Regions from separate parts of the Homo sapiens genome. Here regions 2 and 3 are each linked to region 1. The links are contacts of gene promoters, found by promoter capture Hi-C in blood cells and fetal thymus (Javierre and others, 2016). All regions are on one chromosome and are shown on one strand. The core of a region is centred on a gene start or on the middle of the fragment in contact, and the rest is flanking DNA. Distances in the headings are between cores, read along the strand shown.

What was found. The method cuts DNA at HindIII sites, captures the fragments that hold promoters and counts their contacts. A CHiCAGO score of 5 or more calls a contact.
Region 2: a fragment that was not itself captured here is called in contact with the fragment with the promoter of CELF3 in region 1 in 9 of 17 cell types (M0 macrophages, M2 macrophages, M1 macrophages and 6 more); the score reaches 11.0 in M0 macrophages.
Region 3: a fragment that was not itself captured here is called in contact with the fragment with the promoter of CELF3 in region 1 in 16 of 17 cell types (M2 macrophages, M1 macrophages, M0 macrophages and 13 more); the score reaches 20.3 in M2 macrophages.

What each region holds. Positions count from the first base shown.
Region 1 is chr1:151,714,484-151,719,618 of GRCh38, forward strand. CELF3 (CUGBP Elav-like family member 3) reads right to left here and starts at 2,320. Exons shown (of 13, transcript NM_007185.7): 1 at 1,393-2,320; 2 at 111-193. The coding sequence starts at 1,537. It also overlaps a transcript of RIIAD1 not described here. RefSeq lists an enhancer at 2,250-2,544. The HindIII fragment of the contact is 2,919 bases long and covers 287-3,205 here.
Region 2 is chr1:151,432,435-151,437,569 of GRCh38, forward strand. The region is part of intron 3 of POGZ (pogo transposable element derived with ZNF domain); the gene reads right to left. Among named protein-coding and RNA genes, the nearest start is that of POGZ, 24 kb to the right of the region's middle. The HindIII fragment of the contact is 9,229 bases long and covers 1-5,135 here.
Region 3 is chr1:151,451,857-151,456,991 of GRCh38, forward strand. All of the region lies in intron 1 of POGZ (pogo transposable element derived with ZNF domain), which reads right to left. Among named protein-coding and RNA genes, the nearest start is that of POGZ, 5.1 kb to the right of the region's middle. The HindIII fragment of the contact is 951 bases long and covers 2,542-3,492 here.

The DNA of each region.
Region 1 (5,135 bases), core at 1,070-3,569:
CTGGTGATGAGAGGAGGTGGAAATTATGCTCAGTGTCAGGAGGGTGGTGAGCCTCCTGCCACTTCTATGGCCCTTCTCAGTCCCCTGGCCCTGCAAAGGGCAGGACTCACCCCTGGAAGCGTCTTCTGTTCGTGCAGGGCGCTCTGGGCCTTCAGGGCTGAATCCCGGGCACAGTATGTCAGGAAGGCACATCCTGAGGAGGGGCAGGGGCAGAGAAACACGGCGGGGGGTGAGTCCTCCATCTCCCCTCTCTGAAAGGCTCCCTTCCAAAGACTGACGACTGGGAAGCTTTCCCTTCTTGTCATCTTCTGCCTGCTGGGGTAGAGAGGTGTCTCCAAGGGGTAGACTCTCTGCCCCAGAAGTGGGGCAGACACCTGGAGGCCTAAATACTGGTGGTGATGGGAGAGGGAGGACACTTGGGCTGTCAGGAGATGGGCTTTGTGTAGGGAGAGAAGGACCATGTGACCGCCAGACAAGTAAGAGTAGTGTGGCTTTCTCTCCTGCTGAGCTGTTCTCCTTTCCCCTCTCTCCCTCACCTCCACCTCCCTCCATCTTGATCACCATCATCCCTCTCTTCTCCCATTTTCCCTATTTCCTCATCTCTCCCCACCTCCACCATAGGCAGGTGGAGGACGGAGAGTGAAATAGAGAAGGGAAGGGAAGAACAGTTAGTTAGCCGGAAGTGCCTCTTCCCTGTGCCAGGTGGAGGGGGAGCTGGTGTGGCCCCTGGGATCCCCGGTGTGTGGAGCTCTCCAAGTGCTGACCCTGACCGCCCCCACTTAGCCGCACAGCCCTTGGATAGGCCTGAGGAGCACCCTCCCTTCTCCCCCACTCTCTTAACTTTCTAAGCCTCCCACACTTTCCAGATCTTTACCAATCTCCAGCCTTCATGCCCTGCTTCCTAGTCCCTCTCTTTAGTCCTGGAGCTGCCCTGCCCAGTCCAGCTCCACGCTTTCCACATTGAACACCTGACCCTGTGTCCTGACCCCCATCCCAATATTATCTGAGGCTGCTCAGATTCTCAGTCTTGCTGCACACGCACACACACACACACCCCTACCCAGCTGCTTATCTCCCAAACCAGCTCTCTTGTCCCTCCATTCTTTCTTGAGTTCATCCCATGACATCAACACACCCATATGTCTGGGATCCACATCTTTGCAGCCGTCTTGACAACTCTTCAGCCAAAAGAGGCCCTCCTTAGTCCTTCACCGGGGTTTCCTGATCACTCTAGCTGAGTTCTTTTTCAGCTCCTCCATCCACTTTCCTCAGGCCTGAACTCTTCTCCTTCCACATCAGCCCTTCCCAGCCGCTCCACCCCTCCAGCCTGGCTTAACTTCCCCCAGCCTCCCAGCCCACCCCGAAGCCTCTTCAGCCTGCCCGACCCCTCACCCTTGTGCAGCCCGGTGTACTTGTCCTTGATGACAGTCAGCTCAAAGATCCGACCAAACTGTTCGAAGATGGGCTTCAGGTCCTTCTCCTCCAGATGCCTCGGGATCTGCCCCACAAACAGCTTGATGGCATCCGGCTCCTTCATTGAGGCGGCCCAGGAGGAGGGGCCGAGGGGAGCAGGGAGAGGCCCAAAGGCCAAGGGGAGCTGCCCAGCAAGGAGATAAGTGGTGGGGCCCGGGGGCCCAGCTGGGGCTGGCTTTCCCTTTGGCCCCCAACCACGCTGCTAAGCAGAGGGGCGGCTCTTCACACAAAGGAGGCCCAGGGAGTTGAGTGCTAGGGGTCAGGGGTCTAGGCAGACGCTGTCATGCCACCAGGGGGCATCGCCTAAACAAACGATCTCCCTCCCAGAGATCTGGCAAATGTCCCAGGATGGGGGTGAGTATGGCCAAGACCTGGAGGGTTAGGTGGTAGCCGGGGGTGCTAGGGCTTAGAGGGCTGGGAACTGGGAGTTGAGATGAGAGCTGGAGGCGGGGAAAGGGCCTGAGGAGGGTGATGGGGAGGAGACTGAGGGGTTAAGGGGCCTGCTATGGTTGCCAGCAGCGTCAGTAAGGGGGGCCCACTCCTGATGTGGGGCAGGTGAATCTCTCGTTGGCTTCCCTGGGAGGACACCTCCCCTGTGGCGGATCCTTCTGCTGGGTCCGAAGATCCCTGATGCCAGATGCTTGATCTCTGATGGCGGCAGGGCTCCAGGGGTCCCTTTTGCCCTGCCGCCCCCCTTCAGGTCCTCCCCTCAGCCCCCCTCCCACCCCCACCCCAGTCCCCGGGCCTGGGCTGCTGCCGGCTGCTCCCGCCGCTGGGGCTGCCTGCTTTCCCGGTCACCTGGGTCCCGGAGCTCTGCTCTCCGGCCGCGCTCTCCTCAACAAAAACCTCCCCCCTCCACACCCCCCTCCCCACTCCCACCTCCTTTCCCCTGACATCAGTGATGTCAGTCTCAGGGGTCGAATACAAATTCTCTACCCTGGAGAGGGACGCACAATCCAGGCACGAGCCACGCCCTCTTTCTATCTCCATCCTCCCTGACTCCCTTCCCGCCCCCAGAAGAGCAGCTGGTCCTGTTGATAATAACCCTTCCCCCATCTTACTCCCCAGTCAGGAGTTGGGCAAAGCACTAAGATGGAGAATTTATAGAGGAACCCTAAAGTGGGGTCCATTGTTCCGGGGGCTGGAGCTGTCCCCGGTGCTGGAAGACTCAGCAGATGGGGGGTGGCGGGGAAAGAGGGGAGCCCGGCATCTGGGGAGCCCCAAGAGTAGAGAGTCAAGGAAAGAAATCAGGGGAAAGAAAAATGAGAAAGGACGGTTGCATAGGCTGAAGGGAAAGGAGATATAGATGGAGAGGGAAGCAGGTCGCAGAGTCTGGGGGAAAAAGAAAAAATGCAGAGAGGAAAAATGGAAAGGGACGTGGAGAAGGAGGAGCAGGATGAGAAGAATGCAGAAAGAGAACTGTATATTTTCCAGAAAAGGAACCAAGAAAAACGATAGCTTTCTGGCATTTGCCGATGCCCCCTTCTCTCCCTCTGGGGGGTTTGTGTGTATAAGTGCGTGGGCAGGGAGGCCGCGGAGGCGGCGCCGCGGGCGCTCTCACTTGTAAGCTCCTTGAAGACCAGGACACCGTTTAATTCAGCATCTTACTGTTCACAGTGTCTAGCACCCTGTCTTGCTCATGCGTAGCAGGAGCTTAACAAACACTCCATGCAAACAACCTCTGACAACAGTGGATTCCTGATTCCTTCAGTGGGAAGAACCACAGCTGTCAAGCTTCCCCTTAGGATGCAGAAACCCAATTACTCTTTCCTTTGCTTCTTTCTTCAGTTGGGTTCTTTGAGTTGGACTCAAATTGAGCCAGGTAGCACAGAAGAGCAGGGGAGGCACATTCGGGGACCATTGCTCCCCTGACCATGGATACTTCTATGGATGATTGGCAGGCTCCACGATCTGGAGGGAGCGTGACCCCTCCATGCACTGGGCCCACTCAGAGCACGCCCTCAGTGCAGGGATTATCTGTGGACATCAAACCTTGTCAGTGGTGGTAGCCCTTGCTTTCTGTCAGTGCTCAGCAACGGGGGCTCTCCTGGGGCTCTGGGCTTTTGTAGAGCACCCTGTCTTCCTGTCATTCCCTTCTTCTCCCCCGGGGTAGGGCTGCTGTTTCCACAGAGGCACTCGTGTCTCTAAACTGTGTCCCAGCTGAGTCCCAGGGGCCTCCATTCCTGAGCTATCACGGCAGGCAGGCTTCTCTTCTGGAAGGGAAATAATAGTAACAGCCAGTGCTTACATGGCTCTTACAGTGTCCCAGGCTTTGTGCCAAGTGCTTTATATTTACTAACTCCTAAACCCTCACCACCCCCCTATGATGTAGATTTTGTCATCTCCAAATAGAGAGGAGGTAACCAAGACACAGAGCTGAAATAACTTGCCTAAAGCCATGCAGCTAGAAAGAGGTCTAGCTGAGACTGGAGCCTGGGCAGTCTGGCTCCTGAGTCCACGCATTTAACTCCCACATCAAACATTCCTCTTGAGAATGGGAGCAGTGGTGAAGTCTGGCCTTTCTTCCTCTTCTGTCTCCATTTAAGCCCTGGATGAGAGAGAGTCTTTCTTTTTACTGCTTGATTCTGTGGACCACCTCCCATCCTTCCTTAGCCTGTTTTTTTGTTGTGGCCTGGAGCCACGCTCTGGCAGGTGCTTGCATTTGAGTGAATGTGTATGTGTGTAGACTTGATTACACTTCATCACATGGATGCCCGGGTCCCCCAAGTAGGGTCCCCTAAGATGGGGTGGCAGTGGGGGGAGGTGCTAGAGGACTCAGTGGTGGGTGCTCAGAAGAAGCGAATGACGGCAGAGCCAGGGAATCAAGAAGGGCACACACATCTTGAAAGTAACTTTCCACTCACCTACCCCACCCCCACTGCTCCTTTCCTTGCCTTCTAATCTGATCTTGGTATTTATGGAGATGCTAAACAGATCATGTCCTCTGAGGATGGAGAAGGGGAAGACCCTATGGCCCTGTTGATCTCATTACTCTATGTCTTCTCAGCAGATCTGCCGCCCTGCTGCTCATTCAGGCTTGGGGCTAATCATATTAATTGAAATATTAAACATTCACAAAAATGAATTAAAATGAACTCCCCTCACTCCTCCTCCCAGTCAGTAATTGGGGAGACAGCTGCAGACAGCAAAATGCGTCCAGTCCTTTGCTTAGTTTGTGGTCCCCAAAGGTGTCAGTCTGAGAGAAGAGGCAGGGTTTAGAGGAGAAGAGTTGTACCACTCATCAGACTCTCCTTGCTGAGTGACGGTGAACACATCTCTGGTGTTCTTTCAGGCCATGGGATGGGAGTCCTGTGAGGTAAAGGCAGGGGAGCCCTGAGACTCAGATGCCTATTCTGGAAAGTTTCTCTCTAGGAGAGAGAGAGGCTTCCAGGATACTTTCTCTGCCCACCACCCCCAAGCTCACCCTCTTTTTTATTCCTCTGCAGTCAAAGCTAGGCTGCCCTACATAAAAAGATTATTGAATTTATAAAGGGAGAGCTCTGATCCTGGCTTTAGATTCTTAGGAAATGAGAAATGCTGGATAATTGGGATATTTTTCAGAAAGGGCAAAATGTGGTGGTATGTGTGGGCAGAGTGGCTAGTCATGAAGTACTTACTGGCTTCCCTGATTGAATACAGAGTGAAGACATCTGCAGCAGAAT
Region 2 (5,135 bases), core at 847-3,346, 280 kb before region 1:
ACTGAGCCAGAAGACCAGTGATTGTAGAGGCAGATAGATAAATAAAACAGAAAATTCCAGCAAGTTCTATCCATGTTAAACTATACTGGCAATTTATCTATGGTGGGTTTTTTAAATTTTTAAATGTTTTATTATGGAGAAGTTAAAACATACATAAAAAGGGAACGCTATAGTGAACCCCTATGCAACCACCACCCTGCTTCAATAATTATCAATGTATGGCAAGTCTTATTTCATCTATACCTTCTACATACTTACTAGTTCCCATATCACTTTAAAGCAAGTTCTAGATCATATCATCTATAAGTATTTCAAAATATACCTTCTACATAAGAACTTCAAAAAAAGATAAAAGAATCATACCAACATAACTCCTGAACATTATAATAATTATTCAATATCAAATACCCAGTCAAAATTCAAATTTACTTGTATTTTTTAAGTAATTTGTCTGAATCCAGTTACAAAATGTTTGCAAAGTGCAACTGATGAACTAACTCTTTTAATCTATAGGTTCCCCAACCATCTCTTTCTATCCTTTTGAAATTTATGGTTGAAAAATATTGACTAAGCAAAAGTCTATATTTTTTAGTCATTATTTTAACTGCTAGGACAAAAGAAAATAAATTATCTCTTATTTATCCTAATTCTAAAAATTCTTAAGATAATTACTAGCTCAACATCCCAATTAAATACAAGAAGGGAAAGATGGAGGCTTTTTGCATTTATGGGAAATCAGTCAGCATTAGCAAGTCTCTTAAAGACAGACCAGGTTTCCATGAAACCCGTAAATACCATTATAAAGAATTTTAACAGCATTTTCTGCAAATATTTTCTCTTATATCAGGGTCAAGTTTAAATTTTGGTGGATTGTTAGAATTTTTCCAAAAAGGCTGGGCAAGGTGGCTCATGCCTGTAATCCCAGCATTTTGGGAGGCTGAGGTGGGTGGATCACCTGAAGTCAGGAGTTTGAGACCAGCCTGACCAACACGGAGAAATCCCGTCTCTACTAAAAATAACAAAACTAGCCAGGCGTAGTGGCGCATGCCTGTAATCCCAGCTACTCGGGAGGCTGAGGCAAGAGTATTGCTTGAACCCAGGAGGCAGAGGTTGCATTGAGCCGAGATCGCGCCACTGCACTCCAGTCTGAGCAATAAGCGAAATTCCGTCTCAAAAAAAAAAAAAAAAAAAAAAGAATTTTCCCAAAAATATGGTACAATCAAAAAGTGGTTTTCTAAGACCAGATTAGATTCACAATGCAATGGAAAGCAAAAGCCAGACTATGGAAAGTCATACTAGGTAAATTATACTTACTTATTTAGAAGCATTTTAATGATTTCTGCAATCTTTGCTCAAAGGAATTCTGACAATTCAAGTGTCTTACAAGGTTCTATTTCCAGAGGATGAAACAGGCAATCACAATTCTGGTGCTTTAAAAAAAAAGCCTTTAAAAGGATTATCCAAACTAGGGCAGTGGTATGCACCCGTAGTCCCAGCTATTTGAGAGGCTGAAGCAGGTGGATCACTTGAGCCTAGGAGTTCGAGTCCAGCCTGGACAACACAGTGAGACCCCCATCTCAAAAACAAAACAAGGCCAGGCGTGGTGGCTTACGCCTATAATGTCAGCACTTTGGGAGGCCGAGGCAGGCAGATCACTTGAGGTCAAGAGTTTGAGACCAGCCTGGCCATCATGGTGAAACCCCCATCTCTACTAAAAATACAAAAGTTAGCTGGGCATGGTGGCATATACCTGTAATCCCAGCTACCTGAGTGACTGAGGCATGACAATTGCTTGAACCCAGGTGGGGTCTTCAGTGAGCCAAGATTGTGCCACTGCACTCCAGTCTGGGCAACAGTGTGAGTCTCAGTCTCAAAAATAAAAAATGAAAAATAGCTAGGCATGGTGGTGTGTGCCTGTAGTCCCAGCTACTTGGGGGGCCGAGGTGGGAGGATCGTTTGAGCCTGGGAGGTGGAGGGTGCAGTGAGCCAGCTGTGTTCGTGCCACTACTGCACTCCAGCCTGGGTGACAAAGTGAGACCCCATCTTGAACAAAACAAAGAAAACCTAAGAAACAAATGAAATAAAACAATCCACCTCAGTGACAATTAATTCCATGAGTTTTCTTCTATACTTCAGACATCACATGGTATCAAGCACATTATTTTTTGAGACAGAGTCTTGCTCTGTCACCAGGGTGGAGTGCAATGGTGCAATCTTGGCTCACTGCAACCTCTGCCTCCTGGGTTCAAGTGATTCCCCTGCCTCAGCCTCCCAAGTAGCTGGGACTACAGGCACATGCCACCATGCCCAGCTCATTTTTTTGTATTTTAGTAGAGACGGGGTTTTACCATGTTGGCCAGGATGGTCTTGATCTCCTGACCTTGTGATCTGCCCACCTTGCACATAAATCAAAGAATTATGCAACTAACTTTCTCCCTCTAAGTTTGCTCTCTCTTGATTTTTTTCCTTCATTCTTTCTTTTTTTTTTTCACAAGGAGTTTTGCTCTGTCACCCAGGCTGGAATGGCATGACCTCAGCTCACTGCAACCTCTGCCTCCTAGGTTCAAGTGGTTCTTCTGCTCAGCCTCCCAAGTAGCTAGGAATACAGATGCCCACCACCATGCCCAGCTAATTTTTGTAGTTTTTAACAGAGACAGGGTTTCACTATTTGGCCATGCTAGTCTCAAACTTCTGACCTCAGGCGATCTGCCCGCCTCAAGCCTCCCAAAGTGCTAGGATTATAGGCGTGAGCCACTGCGCCCAGCCTTCCTTCATTCTTTTAAGTTTACTTCCATACCCTTAAAGCCCAGAAATAGAGGGCTAAATACAATAGGAACTGAAAACCATAATTAGTTATACTGTAAGAAATTTATAACATTAAATTCACATCATTCACAGCTCAGAATTAAGCAATAGTTTATTTCACCTCATAATGTTTCTTTCCTGTGCAAACATAAGATGAGTCAGAACTACAGGAATAATTTTAAAATACTGAGTAGTAAATTCTAAAGAACATCAAACAGAATAGTAAAAATATTCCAAAATTTTATTCCTGATACTTTCCTTTTTTTTTTTTGAGATGGAGTCTTGCTCTGTAGCCCAAGTTGGAGTGCAGTAACGTGATCTCAGCTCACTGCAACCTCCACCTCTCAGGTTCAAGCGATTCTCCTGCCTCAGCCTCCCAAGTAGCTGGGACTACAGGTAAATGCCACCACACTCGCCTAATTTTTTTGTATTTTTAGTAGAGATGGGGTTTCACCATGTTGGTCAGGCTGGTCTTGAACTCCTGACCTCAAATGTTCTGCTCACCTCGGCCTCCCAAAGTGCTGGGATTACAGGTGTAAGCCACACACCTGGCCTTGATACTTTCTTAAAAACAAAACACACACAAAAAACCAAACCCAGCTTTGAGATATAATCCACATACTGCCCATTTAAAATACACAATTCAGTGATTTTTTTTTATATTCCCAAGGCTGTGCAACCATCATCATCATTATTTAGTTCCAGAACATTTTCTTTTCTTTTTTTTTTTTTTTGAGATGGAGTTTCGCTCTTGTTGCCCAGGCTGGAGTGCAGTGGCGTGATCTCGGCTCACTGTAACCTCCGCCTCCCAGGTTCAAGCAATTCTCCTGCTTCAGCCTCCCGAGTAGCTGGGATTACAGGCACATGCCACCATGCCCGGCTAGTTTTTTATATTTTTAGTAGAAACAGGGTTTCACTATGTTAGCCAGGCTGGTCTCGAACTCCTGACCTCAGGTGATCCGCCTGCCTTGGCTTCCCAAAGTGCTAGGATTACGGGCGTGAGCCACCGCGCCTGGCCTAGATCCAGAACATATTCATCGCCCTCAAAAGAAACCTCATTTCCCCTAGCAATTATTCCCCATTCTTTTCTCTTCCCAGCCCCTGGCAACCACGAATCTAATTTCTCTCTCTGTGGACTTGCCTATTCAAGACATTTCATATAGATGGAATCATATAATATGTGACCTTTTGTGTCTGGCTTCTTTTTTCTTTCTTTTTTTTGAGACAGAGTTTTCCTCTTGTTGCCCAGGCTGGAGTGCAGTGGTGCGATCTCAGCTCACAGCAACCTCCGCCTCCCGAGTGCAAACGATTCTCCTGCCTCAGCCTCCCTAATAGCTGGGATTGCAGGCATGCACCACCACACCTGGCTAATTTTGTATGTCTGGCTTCTTTCTCAGCATTATGTTTTCAAGGTTCATCTATGTTATAGAATGTATCAGTATTTCATTCCTTTTTATGGGCAAATAATATTCCATTGTGTACATATATTACATTTTGTTTATCCATCAATTTATGGACACAGGTTGTTTTTACTTTTAGCTATAACAAATGATACTGCTATGAACATTAGTGCACAAGTTTTTATGTGAACATACGTTTTCCATTCTCTTGGGTATACAGCTAGGAGTAGAACTGCTGGGTTATATGGTAACTCTATGTTTAACTTTTCGAGGGCCAGGTGAGGCGGCTCATGTCTGTAATCTCAGCACTTTGGTAGGCCAAGACAGGCAGATTACTTGAGGTCAGGAGTTTGAGACCAGCCTAGCCAACATGGTGACACACTGTCTCTGCTAAAAATACAAAAGTTAGCCGGGTGTGGTGGCAGGCACCTGCAGTCCCAGCTACTTGGGAGACTGAGGTACGAGAATCATTTGAACTTGGGAGGCAGAGGCTGCAGTGAGCCGAGATTGCGCCACTGTACTCCAGCCTGGGCAACAAAGCAGGCTGGAGTGCAGACTCCGTCTCAAAAAAAAAAAAAAGTAATACATGCCACAAACACCTTCCAGTTTGTGGTTTGTCTTCTCCGTGTGTGTTTTTTTTTAATCACATCTTTAATGTAGTTCTATTTATCAATTTTACCCTTTATGGTTAGCTCTGTTTTTGTATTTGGTTTAAGAAATCTTTCCCTCTTCTGAGACCACAAATTTTTTTTTAATTTTAAATTTCTAAACTTTTTAAAGTACACTAAGTGAAACAATACTGAATTGTTTAAAAATTATTCTCATTTGCTGGTGGGGAGCAGTGGCTCATGCCTGTAATCCCAGAACGTTGAGAAGCCGTGGTGGGTGGATCACTTGAGGTCAGGAAATTGAGACCAGCCTGGCCAACAT
Region 3 (5,135 bases), core at 1,767-4,266, 260 kb before region 1:
GAGGCCAAGGCAGGTGGATCACCTCAGATCAGGAGTTCGAGACCAGCCTGACCAATATGATGAAACCCAGTCTCTACTAAAAATACAAAAATTAGCCGGGCGTGGTGGTGGGCACCTGTAATCCCAGCTACTCAGGAGGCTGAGACAGGAGAATTGCTTGAACCCGGGAGGTGGAGGTTGCAGTGAGCCGAGATGGTGCAATTGCACTCCAGCCTGGGCAACAAGAGCAAGACTCCGTCTCAAAAAAAAAAAAAAAAAAAAAAAAAGTCAATGTTGGCCGGGCATGGTGGCAGGCCAAGGTGGTAGGATTGCTTAAGGTCAGGAGTTCAAGACCAATCTGGGAAACAGAACCGATCCCTCTAAAAAATTTTTAAACAGAAAGGATAATCATATTATATTCATGTAGGAGAATGTATTTATTCCTAGGAAATGCACAAAATATTTAATAGAAATATCTTGAAAGTGACTTTCAAGGGGTTAAGCAAATACATAGATATTTGGCTTTTTTTTTTGAGACAGGGTGTCATTCTATCCCCCAGGCTGGAGTGCAGTGGCACAATCACGGCTTATTGCAGCCTCAACCTCCTGGGCTCAGGTGATCCTCCTGCCTCAGCCTCCCAAGTAGTTGTCACTACAGGTGGGCTATTTTGATATTTTCTTATAGATACTAGTATGCCAACTTTCAAAAAATATTTGGCATGGGCCAAAACATTAAAAATCATCCTGTCACCAGGCGCAGTGGCTCACGCCTGTAATCCCAGCACTTTGGGAGGCCAATGCAGGCGGATCACAAGGACAGGAGTTCGAGACCAGCCTGGCCAACACAGTGAAACCCCGTCTCTACTAAAAATACAAAAATTAGCCATGCGTGGTGGCTGGTGCCTGCAGTCCCAGCTACTCGGAAGGCTGAGGCAGGATAATCGCTTGAATTCGGGAGGCAGAGGTTGCAGTGAGCCAAGATTGTGCCACTGCACTCTAGTCTAGGCAACAGAGCGAGACTCTGTCTTAAAAAAAAAAAGTCACTCTGTCTAGGTGGTGGATAGTTTAAGTGTTCCTTGTAGAATTCTTTCACCCTTTTCTTTTTTCTTCTTTTTGTGATGGAGTCTCGCTCAGTTGCCCAGGCTGGAGTGATCTTGGCTCACTGCAACCTCCACCTCCCAGGTTCAAGTGATTTTCCTGCCTCAGCCTCCTGAGTAGCTGGGATTACATGCATGCGCCACAACGCCCAGCTAATTTTTGTATTTTTAGTAGAGACAGGTTTCACCATGTTGGTCAGGCTGGTCTTGAACTCCTGACCTTGTGATCCGCCCATCTTGGCCTCCCAAAGTGCTTCGGTTACAGGTGTGAGCCACTGCGCCCAGCCTCTTTCTCCCTTTTCGCATGCGTGAAATTTTCTTAATAAAAACTGAGGTGGGGTAGGAGGGAGTGGAACTACCTACTCATATCTTAGCTGTGATATTCTGTACTGCTACATTCCACCTATCTCTTTGGTATTTACTAAATAACTGGTAGCCTTGTTGGTTGAATTTCTTGATTTATTCCCAGGACCAATTTTCATGTAGCTTGTATATATACATTTCTCTTTTTTTATTTTTATGCATCCATTTTCACTTAATATACATTTCTTAAGACATAGCAAAATAGTTAAATAAGAAATAACAAATTAAGGTGGATTATGTAGGCTACCAAGGAGGTACATTACTTTCTTCCATTAATCCATTATTTGACATCTTGGTAACCTAGGTGGTTTCTCTATTTTGTAGTAATTGTAACATGATTTTTTTGTGCACTCAATAGGTTTTACTTAACACTGCAGGCTCACACAGAACTATTAGCAATACTCAGTCTCTTGTCTCATCCTTCAATCCATAATATGGGAGTACCAGATAAATACTCTCCTGGAGGGAAGGGGACTATTTCTTAAATGCTGGCGAATATGGTAGTCTATACTAAGGCCCTATATGATCAGCTAGTCAATAAAAGTCTATATAATTGTAAAGGCAAGATAAAAACAGACCTTTTAAAACAATATACTATTTAAAAGCAGCAAAAAGAATCCTGCAGATACACCTGTATACTTTTAAGGTATTTAATGGGCAGCAAATGTTGCCTATCTTCATCTCAAAGAAAATGAGAAAAAGATCTGTTTTCCACAACTATCCTGACATACTTGGTTCTTGAAAGCTCTGAATTCCTTTGTCTTGTTCTTTCATAGCTGTAAAGTCCAGAAATGAAGAATGAAGAATTCAGAAATGAAGAATTTGGTATCTAACGTTTTCAACTTACTGCCAGTACATACCTGCCCAAAAATCAACATAAAAAGAACATTTGGAACAGGAAAAATATTTTACAGAAAACAAACATTTTAAGAATACCACTTTCTTGTTCCAGGGTGAAAAATAAACAATGATAATCCTCAACATAACTGGTAATTATGTTTTCAAGTTACCTCAATTTTTGGCTCTAAAAAGGACTAATACCAGAAAACCTATAGGGCTGAATACTTAATCTGTGTATAAAACTATAGTTAAACATGTAATAAGCTTTTATTTATCCAGTCTTTTGCACAGCCCATTTTGTCCCTCACAACATCTGTTATAGTACCTCATATGTAAGAATCATAAGGGTTTTAAGTAGTCTTAATAACCTAAAATTTCCAAACTCAAAATACTTTCCTCTTGTCTGGTAGCCAATCCTGTATCAAGAAACACCCAAATATTTAGTTCTGTGCTCTTTACTAAAACAAGTAAGCAACAAGTTCTCTTCTTTAAAGGGGTTCAATATTCAGGAGTCCCTTTCCCAAGAAAAATATCTATACTATGATGGAAAACTTTTCTTCAATGACAGCTGTGTGTTGCCTAAATTCCATTTCTATGCTTTCAATTTCTTTTAACTCTGCTAACACCTAGCAATAGGTTAGTGTCTCTTTTCTGCTCTCCTCCCCTTGGTTACATATAAAAATACGTTTTTCAGTTGGGCGTGGTGGCTCACGCCTGTAATCCCAGCACTTTGGGAGGCCAAGGCGGGTCGATCAAGAGGTCAGGAGTTTGAGACCAGCCTGATCAATATGGTGAAACCCCATCTCTAGAAAAATACAAAAATTACCCAGGTGTGGTGGCGCGTGCCTGTAATCCCAGCTACTGAGGAAGCTGAAGGAGGAGAATCGCTTGAACCCAGGAGGCGGAGGGTGCAGTGAGCCGAGATTGCGCCATTACGCTCCAGCCTGGGCAATAGAGCGAGACTCCATCTCAAAAAAAAAAAAAAGACAAGTTTTTGTGAATATGGCTTAATATCACAAACAAGAATACCAAAGAATCTATCAAAATGTTACCATATTGATATTATGGCAAAGGCATTAACCAGCTCTAGGATTTGTAATCAACCAGCTCTAAAGTTTTTATTTTACAGATAAGGTCAAAACAGTGGTTTAGAGAGACGAAGTAACTTCCTCAAGGTTACAGTTAGTAAATATCCCAGTTAGGATTCAAAGCAAGCTTTTTTTGCTTTAGAATTCTTCCCCAGGTCACTGCCTCTTCCATCAACTTCAACTATTTATAAATTCTCCCAAGTTCCCCAAGGGAGTTAGATTTGAATGATGTAAAGAGCAGAAACATAGGACTGACTGAATGATTCTCATTTTTTTGACTCTTAAAATTATTGAAGACGCCAAAGATCTTTTGTTTATGTGAATTTTATCTTTCCACATTTACCACAAATTTTTAAAATGTAGTATTTATCAATGTATTTTAAGACAAGCCCATTATAAGTTAACATAAATAACATTTCAACAAAAAATACTTTCCCTCCAAAAAGTGAGAAAAGTAACGTTGTTTTGCATTTTGCAAATCTCTTTTATGTCTAACTTGATAAAAGATGGTTGGATTCTCACAGTTACTTCTGCATTCAGTCTGTTGCTATATGTAGCTTTGGTTAAGTATATAATGAAAATCTAGTCGGAAAAGGGAGAAGTATTTTAATAACCTTTTCAGATAACTGTGTTTGGTAAATACTAAAACTCAACAAACGGTAGTTTCTTTCTTTTTTTTTTTTTTTTTTTTTTTTAATAAATAGAGACAGGGTCTCACTATGCTGACCAGGCTCAACTCCAACTCCTGGGCTCACACAATCCTTCCACCTTGGCCTCCCAAAGTGCTGGGATTACAGGAGTGAGCCACCACGCTAGGCCAAATAGTAGTTTCTTAAAGGACAGTTAACATTTTGGAATCTGAAACCACATCAATCCACTTTTTTACTGTTAAAATCCATTGCTATGTCTGGAATTTTCAAAGGATCTTTTGCCTTTGCTTGATTTTGCAACATCATGCATTGGTCATTTGCAAAGCCTAGATTTACTGAGTTATGCCCATCTTCCAAATAACATATTTCATTAAACAACATTTTAAAATATTGCAGTCCTTAACCACTGATATCATAAGGAAAGTCTTTTAAGTACTAGGAAGCTGTCAAACTCCAGCTGTCAACTTTTTAAAAATTCTAATTTTCACCCAAATTTTATCACTGGTAATAAATACTGTCAGTTGTTTTCCTAAAAGTGACAAGCTCACTTCATTTTCAAGAAATATCTGCCAAATACTAAGTGTGAAAAACCATAGTCTGCTAGTCGTTCTTTCAAGTAAAAATGCTACTCCATGAAATAAGCCATTCATTCACAACCCAATCTCACAAATGCTTTTCCTTCATGACAACAATCACACCTCCCTAGGCAGCATAAATGCTTTATCCATGTTTATTTAATCACAAATTCTTAAAAATTAAAAAGACATGTAGTCAAAAGCTAAGACTTAATAATAATAGGCCGGGCACGGTGGCTCATGCCTGTAATCCCAGCACTTTGGGACGCCGAGGCAGGTGGATCGCCTGAGGTCCGGAGTTCGAGACCAGCCTGGCCAACATGGCGAAACACTGTCTCTACTAAAAATACAACCAGGGAGGAAGAGATTGCAGTGAGCCGAGATAGTGCCACTGCACTCCACCCTGGGCGACAGAGCAAAACTCCGCCTCAAAAAAATAAAAATAGAATAATAAATTTTACTGCTTCAAGGGCATTCTCAAGTAGTTTGGTGCCCCTGACTTGCTTTGTGCTAAGGTACCGCCAGTAGTTTTACCCAGCCTTG